2 separate regions of the Homo sapiens genome follow, and region 1 is linked to region 2. Evidence: promoter capture Hi-C in human tissues and cell types (Jung and others, 2019). All regions are on one chromosome and are shown on one strand. Each heading gives the region's core, a stretch centred on a gene start or on the middle of the fragment in contact. The rest is flanking DNA. Distances are from core to core; before and after follow the strand shown.

Region 1 (5,307 bases), core at 2,380-4,879, 53 kb before region 2:
CCCTTCAGTTGGACTTGAAATTCTGGGAAGTAGCATAAATATTCTTTCAGTTTATTGAGAAAAACAATGAAAGAACTAAGCAAGGTTTGAAGACCTGAAAAGACACATATTGATGAAATTCTTACAGAAGTAACTGAAGATATTTAAAGACAGAAGAGAAACCATAAATTTTTCTACCTTGGACAGATGATCAATCCAAGGACTCTAGGTTTTAGTTTTGACTGGTTGGTGTGTTTTGGTGGGGATGGGAAAGAGAAGTGACCAATGGCAAGGAAATTATGAGGCTGCTTCTCTCATGAGGCGCCTTCTTGGGCCTATTAACTTCACCACCATAAGGTTCACCAATTCAAATGTTTAACTCCAGCCTTCGTCCATTCTGAAGGCTCAATCTCTTATCCTCCTGCTCCACTGAAAAGCAGCAACAATCTCTTTTTGGTTTGGCTAGCATCATGGGGAGAAGAACGCTTGCTACTGGCCTTAAAGAGTAAATGAATGGCTATTGCTGGGAGAACTAAGCAAAGTGGACTTTATGGAGAATGTGGCAGAATAGACTGTGACCATGGACTAGAGGTGTCACCTTATATGCTGGCTATCTGTTTATTTTTATTTTATTTATTTTTTGAGACAAAGTCTCACTCTGTCACCCAGGCTGGAGTACAGTGGAGCTATTTCGGCTCACTGCAACCTCCACCTCCCAGGTTCAAGCGATTCTCCCACCTCAGCCTCCTGAGTAGCTGGAACTACAGGTGCGTGCCACCACACCTGGCTAATATTTTGTATTTTTTGGTAGAGACTGGGTTTTAGCATGTTGGCCAGGGTGATCTCAAATTCCTGACCTCAAGTAATCCACCCACCTCGGCCTCTCAAAGTACTGGCATTAAAGGTGTAAGCCACCGTGTCTGCCCCTATCTGTTTAAGATGAGTCAGGTAAAGGCCCTCCCCTTCCCAGTGAACACCTGAGCACTTCAAGGTCACTTCACAGATGTTCACTGAGTCCTCTCCGCCTGTGGTTCACGCAGCTGCATCACTGGGCAAAGTTGATTTGTCCAAGTAATCCTGATCTCCAATCTTGGCATGCAGTGTCTATGCACTCTCAGTCTCTGTGACTTTCTGAGTCATGCTGATAACGGTAGACTAGAAAAAAGGTTCCAAAAGTCTTGCTGCCGAGGTCCTCAGAAATGCTTGGCTTTCTTCTCTTCCCTCACCTGGGATGTTCAGCTACTTCAAATACTCCAATAGGCTCAAAATGAATTATCCTTTCACTTTACTCACTAACCCACTGGGGCTCCAGAACAACATTAACTAACATGACTTTGACTATATGCAGTGGTTTATGCTCCTGACACAAAGATTAACAGATTCAGTCTCTGTCTTCAAAGCCCTTCAACTATAACCGTCTGTACGGATGTAAATGTCATCTAGCAGCTCTTAATAGATATTAATAACATATTGATGAAAATTGATTTAGCTAATTATAATCTCTACTGAAATAAACACTTAATGACTTCAACAGCTCAAATCCCATGAGACCAGAATACAGCGTCATGGCTGTATTCAAAACTCTGTATTGGTTTGGAAAGTATAAGCAGATTCTGTCCAAGTTATGCCTGTGCCCATTCTCAAAAGAGTATGTACCTCTAAGAAACTCTTTTTAAGCTCTATGTACTAATAGCAAAATGGTTGATATTCTTAACATCTACTGCATACATTTTAATATTAAAAAATTAAATGTAAAAATGTTAAAATGCATATAGTTTATAAGCAGCCATAACCTATGCTTCAGCATTTATAAATTAATCTCAGTGGTTTAATCATAATCAACAGATGTTGGTATGGCCCCTTCCTTCTTATTCTCCCTGCCTTCCTTTAACATACCCATCTGGGGGTCAGTGGTTCCTATGCACCAGGCACCGCACATAGCATTTTATCTGCAGAATTTCAACTGACTCTCACTGCAGCTCTATTTGTTTTTTGTTGTTTTAATTTTATATTTTATTTTATTTATTGAGACAGGGTCTTGCTCTGTCACCCATGCTGGAGTACAGTGACACGATATCAGCTCACTGCAACCTCCACTTCCTGGGTTCAAGCAACCCTCCCTGCCTCCGCCTCCGGAGTAGCTGGGATTACAAGTGCTGCCATCATGCCTGGTGAATTTTTGTATTTTTAGTAGAGACGGGGTTTCACCATGTTGGTCAGGCTGGTCTCAAACTCCTGGGCTCAGGTAATCCGCCTGCCTTGGCCTCCAACAGAGCTGGGATTAGAGGCGTGAGTCACCATGCCTGGCCTTGCAGCTCTACCTGATGGGTACTTTATTAACACTTCTATATCAGGGGGCTGTCTGACTCCATGGCCTGCCCACACTCTTAAAAAACACACATTCTGTTCAGATTCAGGAAAGGTTCCAGAGAGGGTGGGGGTGGGGGACAGCTGAAATGCTGGACTCTGAAGGTATGACTCTTTAACAACAAACCAGTTTTGGGCTGGCATAATGGCAGAAGGTCCTAGCCTCCCGCCAAGTACCTGCTGTTCCTTTCCCTGCTTCAAAAGGACCAGAAAAACAAAGAGATGCAAGTAAACTCAGGTCATTCTCAGAAGTGAGTGCTGAGGTTAAGTGGCATTAAAATCAGAGAGTCGGCTGGGTGGGGTGGCTCACGCCTGTAATCCCAGCACTTTGGGAGGCCGCGGCAGGTGGATCACGAGGTCAGAAGTTCGAGACCAGCCTGACCAACATGGTGAAACCTCGTCTCTACTAAAAATACAAAAATTAGCCAGCTGTAGTGACGCACGCCTGTAATCCCAGCTACTCAGGAGGCTGAGGCAGGGGAATCACTTGAACCCAGGAGGCGGAGGTTGCAGTGAGCCGAGATCATGCCACTGCAGTCCACCCTGGGTGACAGAGCGAGACTCCATCTCAAAAAAATAAATAATAAATAAACAAATCAGAGTCCTCTCAATTTTCACACCAAAAAGTATGAAAAAAGAAAGTCCTGTGTTTAGTGGAGACACTGAGAAAGCTTCCCCCATGGATCCAGACATACCTGGCTCAATTGTTCTCTGGAATGTGTCCTTACTGGTCATCACCAATCTAGTTCAGATTTCACCCTGAAATGCTCTTATTCTCTCTTTTGTGGGGTATATTCTACGTACTTTCAGGGCAGAACTGGACTACTCTGCCTTGCAACAGCCGCGCCACATCCTGAATGCCAGAGATACTCCACATATATTTGGGAGAGACATATCCACAATAATAAAAGATACCATATCTTCCCAGCCCCTGAGATAGCCAAATACACACTAACAACCAGTTTTTGGTTTTTTGTTTGTTTGTTTGTTTGTTTTTTTGAGACAGAGTCGCTCTGTTGCCCAGGCTGGAGTGCAGTGGCGCGATCTCGGCTCACTGCAAGCTCCGCTGCCCTGGTTCATGCCATTCTCCTGCCTCAGCCTCCTGAGTAGCTGGGACTACAGGCGCCCGCCACCACGCCTGGCTAATTTTTTGTATTTTTAGTAGAGACGGGGTTTCACCGTGTTAGCCAGGATGGTCTCGATCTCCTGACCTCGTGATCCGCCCCTCTCGGCCTCCCAAAGTGCTGGGATTACAGGTGTGAGCCACCGTGCCTGGCCCCTAACAACCAGTTAAAAGGACAGATACTGAAGCTACATGACCTTTACAAGTGGTTTGGTCATGAAGACTTTCTCAATCTAGGGAAGATGAAAGAAAGCTGTTTGACACCCTTGTGCCTCATAATCCTCTTTCCTCCATGCTTATGAATGTGATCATTTCAAAGGAAGCTTAAGGTTATCATTTGGAAAACACATGACTGCCACAAAGGCTGTTGGTGAACTGTGAATGACCAAGACGACAGCTAGCATGTCTCGATTTAATGGAAACCAGACTTTCCATGAAGTTCACATGGGAACATGCAGCCAACCTTCCCCCTGGATCATTCCAGGCTTTGCTGCTGGGTCTGCTAATAACACTCCTCTTCACACGTCAGCATCCTTGGAAAGCGGCGGCTTGAATGTCTGGGAGGAGAAGATCCTACCTCATATCCATGTAAGTTGTGTGCTTTAATGTGAATTTTGTGATCCAATGTTGTGTTCCCCTCCTCCAATCCTTCTTTGCTCCAAACTGACATCCTATGGAATGTGGCATTATGCAGTTAAGAATACTGACAAATTGCGATGAACAACTAATCTCTTGAGCTCCTCTCTCTGTCCCTCCTGTGTTCTCATTCCAGTCTGGTCATGTATTGCCCCAAGCCTAGACTTAGCAGTGGTCTCCTATCTCCTCTCCCTGTTGACAATCTCTCTTCTCCCTTGCTCCAGAGTTGTTTTTTCCAAAGCATCGCTTTTAACGGGTCATTCACCATCATGCTCTATCACTACAAGATGAATTCTTGACCAAGAGAAATGGATTTCAAGACACTTTGCAGCCCCGTCCAATCCAAATGCAGCATCTAGTAGCTTCTCTAGCATCTTCTACCTCTTATTTTTTCTTTTAACTGAATTCCAGCTACATTCACTCCATTGCTGTTCTATAAATAAAAAAGCCAAGTTCCCATCTCAGATTTTTTTCATTTGCTGTTTCCTGTGCCTAGAATGCTCTTCCCCTAGATATCTCACTTCATGTAGGTTTTTGTCCAAAGGCGACCTCTTTTTTGTTGTTGTTGTTGGAGACAGAGTCTCCCTCTGTCACCCAGGCTGGATTGCAGTGGCGCAATCTCAGCTCACTGCAACCTCCACCTCCCAGGTTCAAGCAATTATCTGCCTCAGCCTCCCAAGTAGCTGGGATTACAGGCACCCACCACCACGCCTGGCTAATTTTTGTGACTTTAGTAGAGATGGGGTTTCACCATCTTGGTCAGGCTGGTCTTGAACTCCTGACATCGTGATCCGCCCTCCTTGACCTCCCAAAGCGCTGGGATTATAGACCGGAGCCACCGTGCCTGGCCCAAAAAGCTGACTGGGGAAACAAGGTTGGCTTTGTTTCAATAGGATGCTTCAAAGGTCACCTGTTCAAAGCATCCTTTCAAATGAAACAAAGCCAACCTTGTCATTTTCTCAGTCAGCCTTTTTTCCCCCATAACAGCCTTTATCATGACATGAGAGTGCCACACGCAGCTGTTTCCTTCTGTGTTTACTGTTCATCCCTCCTATTAGCTCCTTAAAGGCTGGGACTTTGTGCCTGTTCTGCCGACTTCCCTATGTCCATTGTTTGGCAGCTGGTAGGAGCTCTGTAAATATTTTTGGTATTAATCAACTAAAAATAAAGCAATATGTATGGTGCTAAGGGAGACATAAAAA
Region 2 (4,746 bases), core at 558-3,057:
TCTGTGTCTCACCTTCTTGTCCCAAATCATCTGAAACTCTGCCTGCTCTTACTTGGAAGGCTCTGTAGGAACGTTATCCAGCCAGCCTTCTATGGAACCAGCCATCAAACGGCCCCAGACACCTGCTACCAGCTTGTTTCCAAGGGGAGAATAACAGGCTGTCGGTTACATTCGGTTCTTGATGGAAGAAGGGCAGTCAGTGTCCCCTGTAAAGAGTGATCTCTGATTGACCACTTCAGGAGGTGAGTAAGGGTGAGGTCCTTACAAGGTTGTGGCTGGGTCGGACGTGGCCTCCAGCCATCTGATCCTGATATAAGAATGAGGGGTGGTTTTAGAAACTGCAGCCTCTCTGTTTGGACAAAAGGTGAATCCCTTCTCCATGACTCCATCCTGCCCCACTCCCCATTCCCCTGACAAGAAAAGGAGATAACCTTGCAAAACTAAAAATTACAGAATTCTAAAGAATCCAGGTTGAGCTGTAAGGTTTTCCTAGACACCTTGCGTCAGGAATCAGCTGTTCTCCTGTAGCTGATGGGAAACAATCAAAACAAGGATTTCCCTCTGGGCTCCACTGGGAAGTTAATAAATGTCAGAAGTGAGGGATTTTCTGGAAGTTTGTGGCTGGCGAACGTCAGAAAAGATAGATAAAGGACTCAGAGACCTGAAGTCACCTGCTTTCCTCTCTCTAAAAGCAGCCTTAGACATCCGTAAAACAAGGGAAGCAGAAATGAAAAAAAAAGAAGAGATAGAAAAGGAACAGAAGTCGAGAGAAAAATGAGGAAAGATGGAGAGAGGAAAGAGGCTCACATTCTTTCATCTCCCACTAAGAATTAGCTTCCCCCAACAAGAGTTAGGAGAGGGAGGAAATAAGTAATTCCTTAGTTAATGTCCACTTCCCTTCGAATTTCTCACTGCAGTTAGGATTTTTTTTTTTTTCTTGTTCTTCTTAACAAGCCACCTGTGAAGGAGGGAGAGTATTTGCTTTTATGTGACTTGCAGCTCGGGGCGTTGATTCTTTTGATAAGTTCAGTCCTTGCCAACCTTCCCCCCTCTCCAAACAGGAACCATTTCCAAGACAGCGCACACCTGCCAGGTTAGGGGGTGCGCTTTTCCATCTTTTCTCTCTTTGGGGGAAGGAAGGGTCAAAGTGCTGCGAAAGGCCCTTCTTGGGGATGGGGGGCAAATACGAACCATCATTTAATCCGCTGGCGCCGCTGCTGCTGTCACTGGCTAAGGCCGCGGCGACCGACGCACAGCAGAGGCAGCACAGCTGGAGCGCCTGCAAGAGAAAAGGTGACATCGCGCGTGAGGGGCGCGGCGGGGCTGGCGTCGGGCGCCCCCTGCCACCCGCTCTCGGAGCTCCGCTCGGCGGCACCTGCCTTGGCCACGCGCCCCAGTCCCGCCAGGCCCCTCGGCGGGCCCGAACCCGCAGCCGGGAAGGCACACGCGAGCAGGAGGGCGCACTCCATGGTCAGGTGCGGACGCGGCGGCTGCGGGTGGCCAGACGCGGCAGGCGGAGCGCACGGGCGGCGCGCATTCTTTCCGCGGCCCCGGAGCTCGGCGCCCCAGGTGCGGCTCCAGGTGAGAGCCGCCGCCGTTCACATCGCAGCGGGGGCGCGCTGGGACCTCCCCTCCTCCGGCCGCCTGCGCGCCCTCCCTTCTCCCGGCGCGGGCCTGCCGAGCTGCAGTTTGCGGCACCCCAGAGGGTACGGGGGGCTCCCTGGGCCGGGACTGGAGCGCAAACGGTTGGGAGACTGTCGGTGTCTGCCCGCCCGTCTGTGCGTCTGTCTGTGTCGGTGTGAGCGTCTGAGGCGATGGGGAAGACAGCGCCAGCTGGCTCCCCCAGCGCGCCGGAGCCGAGCGCCCGCCTCTCCACCGCGCGGTGATTGGCGACCAGCGGCTCCCGGGCTCGTCCGAGCCCCCGGGCTGGTGCAAGGGCGTGGGATTCCCGGCTCCAGCTCTGAGGGAGGGGGCGAAGGGGGCGGGGAGGCTGGGTGGGAGTGATAGGGAGGGAGGGACCGACCGCCATGAGAAGGAGGGGAGCGCCCAGGGTCAGGCTTGGAAAACGTAATTTAAGCGCACTGGGAGATGAGTTCGGAAGACGAAAGGCTCAGGTGAGTGGCGCGACTTTTTCGCTGCCTGTGCAGACTTCTCATTTTCAACTCTTCTGGCAAAGAGTCAAGATAGCGTCCTCAACACCTCCTAAGTGCTGGGAGCTATCCCCTGCTGTATCGCATTTGCCTCAGGCCCTACCTTTTTCAGGTGGGAATTATTAATTCCTTGATAAAGATGAGGAAAAGGAGGCTCAGATGCGCACAAGCTGACCTAGCTTCCCAGAGTCAGCAAATCTGAGGCAGCCGGGAGGACCAGAACAATGAGCTGTCACTGTCTGCAGCATGTAAAAACTCATGGCACGCGGGGGCCTCCCTCTTCTCCCGGATCTCTCTCTCTCTTCTTGACGTGACCGTGCTTCCCACTCTTCGAGATTGAATCTTGGCCCCAGATACCCAAACCCACAGAAATCAGTTATAACAAACAGCGCACGCCATCACTAGGAATGTGCATCCAGTTTGCTGTGTGCCTGTTCGTTTACTCAAGACATTTATTTGATCCTTTGATCCCTGTTTGCAGAGGTGAACAAAATACAGTCTCACGGGCCAGTGGAAACGAATCTGATTGGATAGCTCGACAACGGTAATAGAAGCAAAATGAACACAAATACTAAAAAGGAAAAGAATAGTCTCCTAAATTAGATGGCAGCAGAATCTAATTTAGATGGGATAAGATGTGTGTGTGTGTGTGTGTGTGTGTGTGTGTGTGTGGGTGTATATATACACACACACATATATATACACACACACACGCATACATACACGTGCAAGGCATCTGTTAGGAGCTGACACTTAAAATAAGGCCAGAGAGAGTGGATCGGTTTTATAAGGGAAGAGGGGAGTAGGATCTTGCATGTTAGGACAGGGGGCACAGCATAAGTGAAGGTCTCAAGGTAGTTAAGTGATTGCCACGTGAAAAGTGTTACAGGCCAGAGGAAGAAGCAAACACAGCAGTTGCTGGGTCAGCTGGACCTTGTAAGCTGGGGCGAAGCATGTTGGAAACCATTAGATTTAAATGAATGTGGGTTTGTGTATGTGTAGGAGGCAACATCATATCCAATAATAAAAAAATGTGAACCATTTTTTGAGCGAGTGTAGGGATTGGACGAGCTGAGGCAGGGTCAGAGAGAAACAAACCACGCAGCTGTTGCTGGCATGAAGGGGTACAATGACAGTGTCTTGCTTGGACCAGGGTAGTGGTAGTGGAAGTAGATGTATTACTCTGCTCAGTCCTGTGGGTACTGAAGTAGTTAACATGAGGTCTATGTCAAGCCTCGATTAAGTGATAGCTCAATACACATAGTCGGTTTTATGGAATGCAGCTGGGAAGAGGTAAACCCAGGCTGTAGCGGCAGAGAAGGTGATGTGTCTGCCTAAGGAACATGAAGCTAAGCCTCACAGAACATCAGGGCTAAACAAATCATTTGGGTTTCCCTACTTAATCTGGTTAAGCTCTGTGGCCTCTGTTTTATAATCTGTAAAATAGGAATCAACATGCTACATCAAAAGGATAGCCTGAGGGGTAAGTGAATATATTTTTCAAAGCACATTATAAGTGGACTTTAAGAAGTGATGGTGTATTTCTGTTATTTCATACATCCTGTGTCAAACTTGAATATACGTCAAAATCACCTGTAATGCTAGCTTAAAAATGCAGATTTCCAGGCCATGAAGCACTGTGATTCTGATTCCATGGATTTGGTGTAGGGCCCAAGCATGCATTTGTAGTAAGCACTTGTGGGTGATTCAGACACAAGTGACTTAAGTGCTTCATATGATTCCATGAAGAACTGGACACAAGAGGAAACTGGACATCAAAGACATGCAGTAAAACACTGCTGGAGGTCACATCACCAAGCAACGGACTGAATAAAACAGGAGACTGGGATTGACAGCACTGTCAGCGACATCATCAGGTGAACACTGACGGAACCTGGAGGGTGAAGGGCTTGTCCACACTCAGCTAAAAATAACCATGGCCCTGATTTGTGTCTCTCCATTAAGATACATTTGCATGAAATTGTCCATATTTTTCTGATCCTCCTCTTTTAGGGCTAACAATATAGGTTACTTGCCATGGTCAGGGCTGAAGTCTCGGAGAACAACCCTTAACTATGCTCTATGCTCAATTGTGGAATTTCTCAATCTCAGCAGTACTGAGATTTGGGCTGGATAATCATTTGTGGTAGGGGCTATCATCCTGTACATTATAAACATAGGATGTTTAGCAGCATTTCTGGCCTCTACTTCACTAAATGCCAGTAGCAGCCCCCAAAATGCAACAAAATGTTGTGAGATTTCCAAATGTTTCCTGGTGGGTAAAATTCCCCTAGGTGAGAACCTGGATAAATAGTACAGATTCCCAGTCCTATTCTGTGACATTTTTTTGTTGAGTGCCCATTTTTTTTTGAGAGTCTAGAGGGCTCCTCTTGAACCTAATGTAAGTAGTTTATCCTTAACTGATTTTACAGCTCTTCTTCCATACCCCAGTCAATCTTTGCTCTCCACAGATTCAAGTCCTCCATGATTGGGCACAGAAACTGAGACTCATTTCTTGCATAGTTCTAGACCTGGAAGATAAAAACTTGCAGTTCCATTCATTTGTAGATGTCTAGTCTCTTTTTTAGGGCTGATA

The links. Contacts are between HindIII fragments. The study calls those that stand out against the background at their distance.
Region 1: a contact is called between a fragment that was not itself captured here and the fragment with the promoter of ADAMTS18 in region 2, in 2 of the 25 tissues and cell types used here (adrenal gland and mesendoderm cells).

What each region holds. Positions count from the first base shown.
Region 1 is chr16:77,378,886-77,384,192 of GRCh38, forward strand. The region is part of intron 3 of ADAMTS18 (ADAM metallopeptidase with thrombospondin type 1 motif 18); the gene reads right to left. Among named protein-coding and RNA genes, the nearest start is that of ADAMTS18, 53 kb to the right of the region's middle. The HindIII fragment of the contact is 5,751 bases long and covers 755-5,307 here.
Region 2 is chr16:77,433,227-77,437,972 of GRCh38, forward strand. It overlaps ADAMTS18 (ADAM metallopeptidase with thrombospondin type 1 motif 18), which reads right to left and starts at 1,808. Exons shown (of 23, transcript NM_199355.4): 1 at 1,380-1,808; 2 at 1,192-1,279. The coding sequence starts at 1,469. RefSeq lists an enhancer at 1,504-2,004. The HindIII fragment of the contact is 10,424 bases long and covers 1-4,746 here.